Linked DNA regions of Homo sapiens: region 1 is linked to region 2. The links are contacts of gene promoters, found by promoter capture Hi-C in blood cells and fetal thymus (Javierre and others, 2016). All regions are on one chromosome and are shown on one strand. Each heading gives the region's core, a stretch centred on a gene start or on the middle of the fragment in contact. The rest is flanking DNA. Distances are from core to core; before and after follow the strand shown. Region 1 overlaps FAM168A (family with sequence similarity 168 member A). Region 2 holds the start of THAP12 (THAP domain containing 12).

Region 1 (6,493 bases), core at 257-2,756, 2.8 Mb after region 2:
CTGGGGAGGTGGTTGCTGATGGTGAGGTGGCACAGGGGAAATTTAAGGAATGGGAGACCTGGAGCTGTTGGTATGGATGGGGCAGAGAGGATGGAGAGGGACAGTGAGCTGTGCTGGAGAGCAGGGGGGAATTGGGTTGGATTATTTTGGTGGTGAAGGATTGGGGTGGCCTCCAAGAGACACATGAGGGTTAAGGGTTGGAATACTTAAATGAACAGCCTTGGTGGCTGTGGTTGGGTGAGAGGCAGTAAGGCTGTTAGAGGGGACTTTGCAGGGGACACGGAAGAGACCTTCTCATTCTTAGGGGCCATTTTAATCTGTTCGGGTGATGTTTTTGTTTGTTTTATTTATATTAGTAAAATTTGGAAGTCAAGTCAGCCCAAAGGGTAAAGTTGAAAGGGGATTTAGTTAAGGTAGAATTAAGGAGGGGAGGGTGTCTTCTGTTATTTGTATATCATAAAAAGTAAGTTGGGGGAAAAAAGCATACTTCCAAACTAAAGGTGGGAGAAGATAAACTGGAATGTAATGGATATCTTTCTATATGATGTCTCTGCCTTTTCTTTTCCCCTCTCCTCCTGGTGTATTTAAAAACTAGCCAGGCATTTTGAAATTTAAATAGATTTGATGAGCTTGAGATTGTTAAGGGTGCATTCCTTGCTTGAGAACTAATGAGTGAGCCTGAAAAATATGAGACTGAATTTATTTTGTAGGTAGGTAACAAGCACATAGGCAAAAAGAGCTTGGGCCTTTTTTACCCCCTCTTTAAATTGATTGCTTGAAGACGCCATTTGTTAGTGTCCTGGTTTGCAAGGCAATTAGGCCCATCATTGTATTGCAGGCTAATAATCCTGAGATGAGTCTTGGCACCACCGCTTTATGTAAACAGAGAAGACAGGAAATATGGAAATGTCATAAATATTCATTGGTGAGATGGTTTGGTACTGATGGAGTTTTTCATATGATTGTCTTTTGACATTGATAAGATTTAGAATAATTGGACTGTATTTCTAAAGATTGAATTTTCTTCCAAAGGAATTCAGGTGATCAGAATTCTGTCAGATGTGAATAAATAAAGCATATTGAGTCATTTTTATTTTATTTTTTGGGGAATGATGTTGATGTAGTCGCATTGTATTAACTACAGAAACAGCATCTCCACCTATTCATCAGAAATTCGATTTAAACCTTAGCGATATGCTCATTCTTAGGGCAGAACGATGATAATGGAAGGTACACAGGAGTGCAAATGGAGGGAACATCTTTAGAGAAACAGTTCTATGGACCTAATTGCATTAACTGTGATAATATGTTAAACATAAAGTGGCTGTTGATTAGAGCTCAGACTGAAAAAAAATGAGGAGGGATGTAAAGAAGATAAAATTGGCACCATTGGGATCGAAATAATTCTTTTTATTTTTGTTCAAGCTTCAGAATTTAGCTCGCAAACAAACCATTTTCCTTGGCTTTCACGATTGAGCATATAAAAATACCATTTAGAATCTTTTTTTTTTAGCTCCAAAATGGGCAGAATGATGGAACGTTGGACTTATCCTTTGAATTGAAAGTGTTTTGTAATGAGGAAGCTTTCTGTATTATAATAAAGATCAGGTTTGAGCAGTTACCTGTAATTCAGTGAGACTGTAATCTAATGTGAGCATTTCTCTCATAACTTTACTCTGAGGTCTAGACGTTGTTTTTGCAGATCTGCAGGCTTGGTCTAGAGGTGGGATGTTTATATTAAAGCCCTAGCTTTTGAAAGCCCAAAATGAAAAGTGCCTGGGAGAAATGTGTTGGTGGATTTTTTTTTTCCACAGCCGTGGTTACCTGTGTAGTAGTAATGTGTTTTTGTATCTTTACCTCATTTGATCCTCCCGATATCTTGGTGAGAAGAGAGCAGATGGAGGTATTGATAGACAGAAGCCTTTGTGGAACGAATAGCCCATGAGTTTAGGAGTTGAGTCCCAGATTCAAATCCCAGTTCTACTACTTGAAAGCTGAGTGATTTCAGTCAAGTCATTAAAAACCTTTCAGATGGCCAGGCGTGGTGGCTCACGCCAGTAGTCCCAGCACTTTGGGAGGCCGAGGTGGGTGGATCACTTGAGGTCAGGAGTTTGAGATCAGCCTGGCCAACATGGCAAAACCCCATCTCTACTACAAATACAAAAATTAGCTGGTAGCACGTGCCTGTAATCCCAGCTACTTGGGAGGCTGAGGCAGGAGAATTGCTAGAACTGGGGAGGTGGGCAGTGAGCCACGATTGCGCCATTGCACTCCAGCATAGGCAACAAGAGCGAAACTCTGTCTCAAAACAAACAAACAAAAAACAAACAAAAAACCTTTCATATTTAGTGGTAATGGCTGCAAAACATTGTGAACATAGTTAATACCACTGAATTGTACACTTAACTTTGGTTAAAAAGGTAAAAATACACACACAAAAAAACCTCAAAAACCAAAAAAACTGGCCAGGCATAGTGGCTCACGCCCATAATCCCAGACTTTGGGAGGCTGAGCTGGGAGTATTGCTTGAGCCTAGGAGTTCGAGACCAGTGAGGGCAACATAGGGAGACCCGTCTCCACAAAAAAAAAAAAAAATTTGCTGGGTGTGGTAGCGTATACCTGTAATCCCAGATACTCAGGAGGGAGGTGGGAGGATTGCTTGAGCCAGGGAGGTCAAGGCTGCAGTGAGCCATGATCGTGCTTCCCTGCACTGCAGTCTGGGTTACAGAATGAGACCCTGTCACACAATCAAACTTTCATACTTCACAAGGCTGTCAAGGGGAACAAACCAGTTCATGTCCTGAAAACACTGTACATATATGAAATATCTGTTCACTATTTATTTATTTAATGAATGTCTGCTAAGTGCCAGGGGAAATAAAAATGAACAGAAAGCAGTTGTCAAGGAGCTTTCAGTGTCATGGGAAAGATAGACAAATACGGTGAGAAAAGTGAGGCAAAATGAATGCTATGGTTAAATGTGGGTTTTGAAGTCTGTCTACCACTTACTATTAGCTGTGTGACGTTGGGCACAATGGGCTCATCTGTAAAGTGCGAATAATAGAATTAACATCATAGGATTGTTTTGAGGATTAAATAAGATAATCAATGGAAAGCATTTCACACAATATGTTTTATAGTACACATTAAAAAAATTAGTTGTTGCCTTTATTGTTAGAAAGATAGGCAGAGGCTAGAATGGTGAATAGCCTTGTGTGCCCTACCAATGAGTTCTTAGTATTGTGGTATTTATTAATGAGGTATGATTTTGTTTTATGATCTCATGCATATTTGCATGTTTACAGTCTAGGAACTTTAAACAGTTCTTTAAATGCCAAAGTCCTAAACAGATGTTAGCTGTTAGCTTCCTCATTAATAAAATAAGAAGAAAAATTATGCTCTGAGAGGTTAAATGACTTGTTTAAGGTTACACAGTCAGTGGAAAAGTCTGGGTTACAGCCCCCAAATTCTAATTTGTCATCCCCATTTATATCCTTTTTTTAAATTGTAAAATATGTCATATGTATAAAAGTATATTTAACATAAACCCACAACTTAAAGAATAACAAATTGAAGGCTTTTCTACTTGCTACCCAGCTTAACAAAAAGGAGATTTCTAGTACCTTTAAAGCCTCTTGTGAGGTCCTACTTGATTGAATCTCCCATCTTCTCTCTCCCTCAGAGATAAACAGTTTCCTAAATTTTATGTGAATCATTTCTTTGCTTTTCTTTATACTTTTACCAAATATGTGCATATCCCTAAACAGTATATTTTTTACCTTTGCAACTTTTTATAAATAGAATTATAGGATAAATATTCTTCTGACTTGCTTTATTCTTATTCTTATTTTTTAACTTTTAAAAAAGCTTTATTTCTTCCACCATTAAATAATGTGTGCTCATGATAAAAACTAGAAATTACAAAAAGTAAAAAGAAGCATAAGTATTGTTTTTAGTCCTATTACCCAGTAACACTTTTTTTTTTTTTTGGTAGAGACAGGGTCTCGCTATGTTGTCCTGGTCAAGTGATCCTCCTTCCTCGGCCTCCCAAAGTGCTTACAAATGCAGGCATGTGGCACCATGCCTGGCTGGCAAATGCTTTTTGTAGAAAATATTTTGTGCCACATATGGCCTCTGTTGTTCTTTCTCCTCCCTTCCACTCCCCTTCCTTTTTGTCTCCCCATCTCCCTCCCCGTTCTTCTCCTTCCTGAAGCCCCTCCTCTTGCTTCTCCCCATTCCTTCTTCTCCCTCCCCTTCTCTTTCTCCTCCTTTTATGTGGTTTTAAGAATGTAAAACTCACAGGCCATACAAAAATAGGCCATGGGCGGGCCATAGCTGGCCGACCCCTGGTACGTTAACAGAAATCAACTCAAAGTTGTAAAATATTGAAGAGGAAAGAGACTAAACCAAGTTCATATTTCTTTCTCTATTTTGTTAAATTTACTTCCTTGGACAGTTATGCATATCTTTAGTATTGAAAACAATGGTATAGAATTTTTTTGTCAAATTATGTTTATCTAAAAGTTTAACATTTTATTAAATGAGCCATTATTTTCTGTATGAAGACACTCTGAGAAAACCTCAGTTTATAAAGTTCCAATACACCTCCTCCTCCTGCCAGTTAGGCAGGTGTCTGGGTCCTTTCAGAATATGCCTATTTTATGATGATATAGGTTGTGCTTTTTCTTAGATATAGACATTTTGAAGGAACCCTGAGATGATATATTTTTCACAGTAAACTTCAATCCTTGGCTACTTGAGATTATGATCTTGATTTGCCTTCTGATCATGTCGCTCAAGCTTGACGATTTCTGCTAACTTGTATTTCTTTTCTAGCCTCTGTTTTATAATTTTTCTAAGTATTTTAGTTTTCTAATGTGTCTTCCTCTATCTTTTATTTTGAGTTGATAGCAAATGTCTCTATCAGTAGATAACAGCTATGCTATTTATACTTATGCAAATATAATGGCGCCATTTTATATATAGTTCTTAGGTTGGTCATGTGGCATTATTTTCATTTTAAGGATGAAGAAATTAAGACTCTAAGAGGGTAGCTGGGTGCAGTGGCTCACACCTGTAATCCCAGGATTTTGGGAGGCCAAGGTGGGAAGATCGCTTGAGCCCAGGAGTTCAAGACCAATCTGATCAACATAGTGAGATCCAGTCTCTACAAAAAACAAAAATATTATCTGGATGTGGTGGCGTGCACCTCTGTTCATAGCTATTTTGGAGGCTGAGGTGGGAGGATCACTTGAGCCCAGGAATTTGAGGCTACAGTGAGCTATGATCATACCTCTGCTCTCTAGCTTGGGCAAGACTATATCTCAATAAATAAATGAATAAAAAGATTCAAGAGGGTAATTTGTCTTAGGCCATAAGACAAGTAGGGAATTAGCAGGGAAAGACAAAAGGTACCTAACATTTGAGTGTCTATGGCAGGCAGTATGCTGGGTGCTTTCTTTTCCTTATAGATAGAATTTAATCCTCATATTTGTGTCGTATAAGGAATTGTGATCATTTTACAGAAGAAGAAACTGAAGCAACTGAGGCATATAGTGATTAACTAGTTTGCATTTGTTTACATAGCTAGTAAGAGAAGAAAAGCTCGTATTTAAAAACCTGATCTGCCTTGCTCCAGAGCCATTGTTCTTTTTGTTGTACTGCATATAAATCTTCCTGGTTTTAAGCTGTTAAATCAGTAGTCTTCTTTTTTTTTTTGAGACAGAGTCTCGCTTTGTCTCCCGGCCTGGAGTACAGTGGCACGATCTCTGCTCACTGCAAACTCTTCCTCCCAGGTTCAAGTGATTCTTCTACCTTAGCCTCTTGAGTAGCTAGGACCACAGGCCCGTGCCACCATGCCCGGCTAATTGTTTGTATTTTTGGTAGAGATGGGATTTCACCATGTTGGCCAGGCTGGTCTTGAACCCCTGACCTCAGATGATCTGCCTGCCTCGGCCTCCCAAAGTGCTGGGATTACAGGCGTGAGCCTGCACCCAGCCTAATCAGTAGTCTTCAACCTATTTAGACAGGTAGTATCTGGCTACTCTTTAGAATCACCCGAGGAGCTGTTTAAAAAAAAAAGATATGTGTCAGTTCTACTCTCGACCAGTGTTAACAAAACTTCTGTAGGTGAGCATAAGGCAGATGTGTGTATATTTATATGGAAAATATAAATTAAAAATAAATTATATTGAGGTATGTATAACATGTAGAAAAAAATGCACAAAATGTATAACCAGCATTCGGATCAAGAAAGGGAACATTATCTCCTCCTCCAAGGAAACCAACAACTTCTAATAATGTAGATTATTTTTGCCTGTTTATGACGTTTCATAGGTGTGACTGGCTTTTCATATATAATATATTTGTGAGACTCATTTATTCTTGTATGTAGGTGTAGTGTGTTCTTGCTTATTGCTATGTAGCAACAGTTTCTCAAACATTTTGGTGTCTTCACATTCATATTTATTGACAACTCCAAAGAACTTTTGCT
Region 2 (7,186 bases), core at 64-2,563:
AATTCTCAGCTACCCTGGGGGGAAGGCTTGTTGAAGATGACGCCTGCAGAAGCTGACTGGCAGAGTAGTGGACTCTGGGATGGGATACCGGCAGGGGCATTTCCCCACCAGCTTCACCCTGGAGATAACTCCATGTTTCAGAACCTGTTACCTTTTTCCTCAAACATGAGCTATTTTTCCTAGTTTCCTTTGAAAGATCGGACCGAAAGTCAAGTTTTCGTGGTTTAGGCTCACCCTTCAAAACACCCGAAATAACTTTTGCAGAAATCTTCCTCATGTTCAAGTTTTCTTTCAAAATGAGCCTAACAGTTTCTTTGTCTAAATTTAACTCTTCAGCCATCATCCTCACGGTTAACTGCCTGTTTGAACAAACCAAGTCCTTGACCTTCTGGATATTGTCATCTGTTCGGTGGGTGACTGGACGCCCACTTCGGGCATCATCTCGAACATCTTCCCGTCCTTCTTTAAACCTTTTGTGCCAGTCAAAAACTCTGGCCCTTGACATGACTTCATCCCCATAAGCTTCTTTTAAAAGATGGTGGGTCTCACTTGCAGACTTGTTCAATTTCACGCAAAATTTGATACTAATCCTTTGTTCTAAATAGCGGTCACTCATTCTGGCACTGAACAACACAGGAACGTTTAACAGGCCACGACTGTAAGGGAAAGACGGACAGATCAATCTTTATAGGGCTGCAGGTGTAATCATATCGCTCTTCTTGCTCTTCTAGAAGCCTCGCCGGGAAAGAGTAATTGCTTTTATGAATTTTTGTCCCTCAGCTTCCAGTCGAGGCTGGGGAGATCCGTTCTGGGAAGCCAACAGTCGCTGCAAAGCTGGGAAAAATTAAATCGCCTACAACCACGTCTGCATCAAACCAGTGCACGCACATCTGCCGAGAGTTTGCCAGTCACCAAGGTCGCTCCGATTCCGCGGCCCTTAAGGAGTATATGGCGAATTCTGCAAGAAAGGCCTAAGTGGTGGCAAATTAAGCAAGCAAGAAGAGATGCATCGGTGATGTAACGTGCAAGCTCGCCCTAGATCTGCAGAAACCCGCGCACGCCAAACCTACCGGAGCAGCCCAGGAACCGCCTGCTCTAGCGTCCCGGGAGACAGGCGCGCATGCGCAATTCTCTCTCCCCGCGGATTAGACTGTGCGCAGTCGCACTGCGGCGGCGCGCGCCAGGTCCCGCCTCCGCCTCGCCACACCCCGGCAGGCGCGCTTCCTTGCGCGTGCCCGCCTGCTGAGAAGGCGGAAAGGAGGGGCGGGGGAGGAAGGCTGAGGGAAGAGAGGGCACCCCCGGGCGTCAGGGTGCATTGTGGGAAGGAGGCGGCAGCGTCTCGGGCGGGCGGGAGGTGCACCAGCGGCGGCGGCGGCGGTAAATCCTCCCGGCCGCTCACAGCACTGTGGAGCCGCGTCCCCAGCCCGGCCTCGGACCGCGGCACCCCTCCTGGCCCTCGCGGCTTCTAGCCCGCCCGCCCCTCCCCCGCGCGTCGGCCCTGCCGAGCCGGCCGGCCGGCCTGGCTCCCCTCCCCGGCCCCGACGGGCGGGCGGACTGCCCTGAGGAGGCGGGGAGGGGAGGGCTGGGCCGGCCGGCGGGCGGGCGACGATGCCGAACTTCTGCGCTGCCCCCAACTGCACGCGGAAGAGCACGCAGTCCGACTTGGCCTTCTTCAGGTTCCCGCGGGACCCTGCCAGGTAAGCGGCGGGCGCAGAGCGGGCGGCCCGGGCCCACCTTCGCGGTGAGCGCTGCCAGCCGCCGGCCCCTGGCGGGCTCCCGGGCTGGCTGAGAGGGGCGCAGGAGGCGGGCGCAGCGCACTGCCGTCGACCCCAGCGTTGGACCGAGATGGGGAGCCGGCCCCGAGCCGTGGGCGGGCGGGCGTCCGGGGACCTCGGAGCACGTGCGCTGGTGGGGGCTCTGCGCGGAGGACACCACCCCAAACGCGAGGGAGCTGGGGCGGCGCGCGGACGCGGGATGCTGTGGGTTCTCGCCGTGGCTCACTTGCTGTGTGACCTCGGGGGAGTCGCTTTCCTCTCTGGGCGTTAGTTTCCTTAGCTGTCAAAAGAGAGCAGGACTCTATGGTTGTGGCCACTGGGGCCTTTCCCTCTCCTTGCCACCACCCCCGGGACAGTGTTTCTGTTTTGAGTCCCGCTACCTTCTTTCATCTCATCGCAACTGCTTTCTCCTTCGGACTTGTCATTGCACGGTTCAGGATTCATTTTCTGGCTGTCACCGTTACTCATTTTCTCGCTTGGGTATTGTAGGGATAACAGAGGGTGTACGCGTGAGGGCGTGGAAATTGGTATTGGAACCTCTTCCTTCGGATAACCCCCACACACTGACATATTTAGGGAATGATAGCATAGGGACTGTGTTTGAAAGGCTGAGATGTTTCATAGGCCTGTCTTGTTGGTTCATTCATTTAAAATCAATGCCTACTATGTGCCGAGCGCAAATGTTAGGTGCTGGGAGTTCATGGGTGAATAAGGGTGTCACTGCTTGCAGAAAGCTCTCAGTCCAGTAAGGGAACAGGTGCAGCAACGGGCGACTATAATTTATGTTATTTATTAATTAGTTCAATTAATTATTGAAGGTCTACTTGTGTTGGCATTGTTGTGAGCAGTGGGGGTTACAGATGAACAAATCGAAGTCCTTGCTTTCATGAAGATTACATTCTAATGGGGGGGGAATAAACAAGTAAAATACGTAGTGTGTCGGATGATGATAAATACTGTGGAGAAAAATAAACAAAGGTTAGAGGGTAGGGGAATAAGTAGTATCAAGGGACGCACAATTGCTATTTTAAATACAGTGATTAGAGAAGGCCTCACTAAGAAGGTGAATTTGAGCAAAGACCAGGTGAAGGGGCCAGCCATGGAGATACCTTGGGCAGCAGCATTCCAAAGAAGGCAAAGACAGGGCAACCAGGAGTCCAGGGAGAGGGACTGGGAGAGAGGTGAGATGAGACCAGAAAGGTGTGTGTATGGTAGGGGCAAATTCTTTAGGTAGGACCTTGTAGGTCTTGGAAGGCACTATGGTTTTTATTATGAGTGAAATAGGAAGTCATTGAAGGGTTTAGAGCAGAGACTTAAATTTTAACAGGATCAGTGGCTGCTCATTAGATTGTGGGGAGGCAAAGGTGAAAGCCGGAAGACCAGTTAAAAGGCTGTTGTAATAATCCAGATTAATAGAGGAGGAGATGGTAAATTTGAGATATGGTTTGAAGGTGAAGCCAACATCATTTGCTAATGGTTTGGAGGTAGATTGTAAAAGAAAAAGAGAACTTAAGGACGACTTCAAGATTTTAAAAATCTATGTTGGCCAGGTTGGTCTTGAACTCCTGGCTTCAAGCAGTCCTCCTGTGTCGGTCTCCCAAAGTGCTAGAACAGGCTCTGAGCCACCGCGCCCAGCCGACTTCAAGATTTTTAACGTGAGCATTTGCTGAGATAGGGAAGACTGGGAAGAGCAGGTTTGGTAGAGGAATACTAGAAGTTTGGGTTTGAGAGACCTGATAGACATTCAAGAATAGATGTCTAGGCCGGGCATGGTGGCTCACACCTGTAATCCCAGCACTTTGGGAGGCCTAAGCAGGCGGATCACTTGAGGTCAGGAGTTCGAGACCAGCCTGGCCAACATAGGGAAACCCTGTCTCTATTAAAAAATACAAAAATTAGCTGAGCCCAGTGGTGCGTGCCTGTCCAGCTACTCAGGAGGCCAAGACGTGAGAATCGCTTGAACCCAGGAGGCAGAGGTTGCAGTGAGCCGAGATCGTGCCACTGCACTCCAGTCAGGGTGACAGAACAAGACTCCGTCTCAAGAAAGAAAGAATAGATGAAAAAAAAAAAAGAATAGATGTCTTTCTTCATACCATATACAGAAATGAACTCCAAATGGCCTATACTTTTATTGAGATCAAAGGCCTAAATATAAGAGCTATGTCATTAAACTTTTAGGAAAAAAATACAGATAAATCTTCATGACTTTAGATTTGGCAGCACATTCTTGTTTGTTTTTTGTTTTTTTTGAGAGTCTCACTCTGTTGCCCAGGCTGCAGTGCAGTGGCACAGTCTCAGCTCACTGCAACCTCTGCCACCGATGTTCACAAACTATTCTACTCACTCAGCCTCCCAGGTAGCTGGGATTGCAGGCATCCGCCACCATGCCTGGCTAATTTTTGTATTTTTTTTTAGTCAAGACGGGGTTTCGCCATGTTGGCCAGGCTGGTCTCGAACTCCTGATCTCAGGTGATCTGCCCGCCTTGGCCTCCCAAAGTGCTGGGATTACAGGTGTAAGCCACCGTGCTTGGCTGGCACCACATTCTTAGATATGACACCAAAATACATGCAGTAAAAAGAAAAATAGACTAATTGGACTTCATCAAAATTAAACTTTTGTGTATCAAAGAACATTACCAAGAAAGTGAAAAGAATGGAAGAAGGTACTTGCAAATAATACATTTGATCTGGGTCCAGTATCCAGAATATATAAAGAACTCTTACAATTCAGCAACAAAAAGACAACCCAATTTTAAAATAGGCAAAGGACTTCTTTCTTTAAACAGAAGATATAAATGGCTAAAAAGCACATGAAAAGATGCTGAGCATCACTCGTTATTAGAGAAGTTCAAATCAAAACCACAAGTGGCAGTTAGATGTAGAATTACTGTGTGTCCCAGCAATTCCATTCCTAGGCGTATATCCAAAGAATTGCAAACTGATATTCAAAAAAACCAAATGTACACACATTCATAGCAGCACTATTCGCAATAGTCAAAAGGTAGAAACAAGCCACGTTTATCAGTGCTTGAATGGATAAACAAAATGTATATCAATACAATGAAATATTAGCCATGAAAAGGAATGAAGTGCCAGTACATACTACAGTATGGGTGAACCTCAGAAACATTATGCTAAGTGAAAGAAGTCAGATACAAAAGCTTATATGTTGTATGATTCTATTATATTAAATATCCAGAATAAGTAAATCCATAGAGATAGAAAGCATATCAGTGGTTGCCTGGGGCTGGGCGAAAGGGAGAGTGGGGAGCAACTGATTAATGGTTACAAGGTTTCCTTTTGAGGTGATGAAAATGTTTTAGAATTAGGTAGTGGTGATGGTTGCAGAACATGATGAATGTGTTAATTGCCATTAGTTTTTTACTTTAAAATGGTTAGTTTTATGTTATGAGAATTTCACCTCAAAGAAAATAGATGTCTTGAAGAGAGAATAGGATATACAAGTCTGAAATTCAGAGACTTTCAAACCGGAAATTGTAAATATGGGTGTTCTCAGTTTATAGAGGGTATTTAAAACCGTGGTACGGGTTAAGGTTATCTAAGGAGTGAGCAAAGAACAGATCTGAGGATTGAGTCCTGGGGCATTCCCAGTGTTTTAAGTTCCGAGACATGGGAAAGAACTCGCTCAGTACAGTGAGGAGTAGCAGTTGGGAACAGAGGAGAGGAGCATCTTAGTCTGACTTGGCCTTGCCCCATTATGCGTTATCTTCCTTTTACCCAAATTTTAGCCCAAAGACATTCTTACAGGTTTATTTCACTTCCATAATGAGGGCACCCCTAGTCAGTTCTGGACCACAGGTCATTTGTATTAATATGTAGTGAATCCTGTTTTGACTACACTCCTTAAGGGGAGTATAGTCTATAGGGGTTTACAGTTTCAGATTTGAAAGAAGTGTTTAGATCTAGTGAAATCTCACTTGAAATACTGGAATTTTCTCAATAATAGTGACTTTTATCATTTTTAGGGTTATTATCCCTTTTGAGAATCTAGCATAAGGACTCTTACCTGAAAAAAAAAAAAAAACAAAAAAAACATAGACACAATTTAGCATTCGAAGACAAAGATGTTTATGGGCCTTTATAGGCCCTGTGCATTCCTGACAGATGGGCATCTTTGCCCTTGCTAAAACACCTCTAATGATAGTCCTCCCCTTTGTGAGAAGACACGTGATGATTCTGGACGCTTTGGCTGTTGTTTCTTCCTTGTATTGAGTGGACATCTGCCTCCTGTAATTGAGGCCTTGGAGGTCCTAGTTTTGTTCCCAGGATCACACGAAGTCTCTGCCCTTTTCAACGTTAGACTCCTTTGAATGCTTCAAGACCAAATCATGAATTTCTTTTTAAAAAGATGTTTATTGAGATGCAATTCACATATAATTCACCCATGTAAAGTGTACGATTTGGGGTATATACATTAATTTTTAAAATTTTGGTAAAATACAACAGAATTTGCTAATTTAACCTTTAAGTGTGCAATTCAGTGGCGTTAATTACATTCACAGTGTTGTGCAACCTTCTCCACTATTTTCAAAACTTTTTCATTTATCCCAAACAAAAACTGTAACCATTAGGCAATAACCTCCCATTCCCCTGCCCTTCCAGCCTTTGGTAACCTCGAATCCACTTTCGGTCTTTATAAATTTGCCTGTTCTAGATTCCTCATATTGGTGGAATCATACAATATTTCTCCTTTTATGTCTGGCTTGTTTAACTTAATATGTTCAAGGTCTTTTTATCCAAATCAAACCTCCTCGTACTACATGATTTTAAGTTCTACTGTATTTGATAGTTTCCATTTCACTGTGCCCAGTGTTATTTATAACAAAGAAGTAGTTTCCAGAGGTGTTATTGAATTAATAACAGTATTTTTAGGGTTATTAGTTCTAACCCACCCCCCCCCCACCTTTTCTTCTATAAACAGGTTGTAGGGAAGGTTGATAAAAGGTGACATTGCCAGTCTAGTCTTCAAATGCTAACATTGTTAACAAACAATAAAGATGAATATATTTAATGCTATTAAAACAGTACATTTCCCAGTCATCAGTTATAAATTCCATGCATGCTTTTAGAAACAGCTATTTAGAAATAATTTAAACTTCAAGAGTGTAATTAATAAAGTGTATGGTGTGGAATCACATACCATAATAGTTCTTATTGTTTTAGAAAACGTGGCATTAATATGCTTCTTTTTTAAAAAAGTGAAATAATCAACCCAGCTTAGGTCAGTGACACGGTTTAAGTAAAAAAAAAAAAAAAAAGCCTAAGTCTTGATTGCCCCAGGGTGGCTTGCCTAATGCCAAGGCTTGCCACTGTGAGGCAGCTCACAGTGGAGCTCTTCCTAAACCAGGAGATGGTACAGGTAGAGCTAATGAATTGCTCTGATTAGAGTG

The links. Contacts are between HindIII fragments. The CHiCAGO score rates a contact against its expected background, and 5 or more counts as called.
Region 1: a fragment that was not itself captured here is called in contact with the fragment with the promoter of THAP12 in region 2 in 1 of 17 cell types (non-activated CD4 T cells); the score reaches 7.1 in non-activated CD4 T cells.

Annotation. Positions count from the first base shown.
Region 1 is chr11:73,590,369-73,596,861 of GRCh38, reverse strand. All of the region lies in intron 1 of FAM168A (family with sequence similarity 168 member A), which reads left to right. Among named protein-coding and RNA genes, the nearest start is that of FAM168A, 4.5 kb to the left of the region's middle. The HindIII fragment of the contact is 158 bases long and covers 1,428-1,585 here.
Region 2 is chr11:76,375,259-76,382,444 of GRCh38, reverse strand. It overlaps THAP12 (THAP domain containing 12), which reads left to right and starts at 1,313. Exons shown (of 5, transcript NM_004705.4): 1 at 1,313-1,697. The coding sequence starts at 1,609. It overlaps GVQW3 (GVQW motif containing 3), which reads right to left and starts at 1,122. Exons shown (of 2, transcript NM_001347885.2): 1 at 152-1,122. The coding sequence starts at 616. RefSeq lists a silencer at 1,035-1,964 and an enhancer at 1,607-2,108. The HindIII fragment of the contact is 4,414 bases long and covers 525-4,938 here.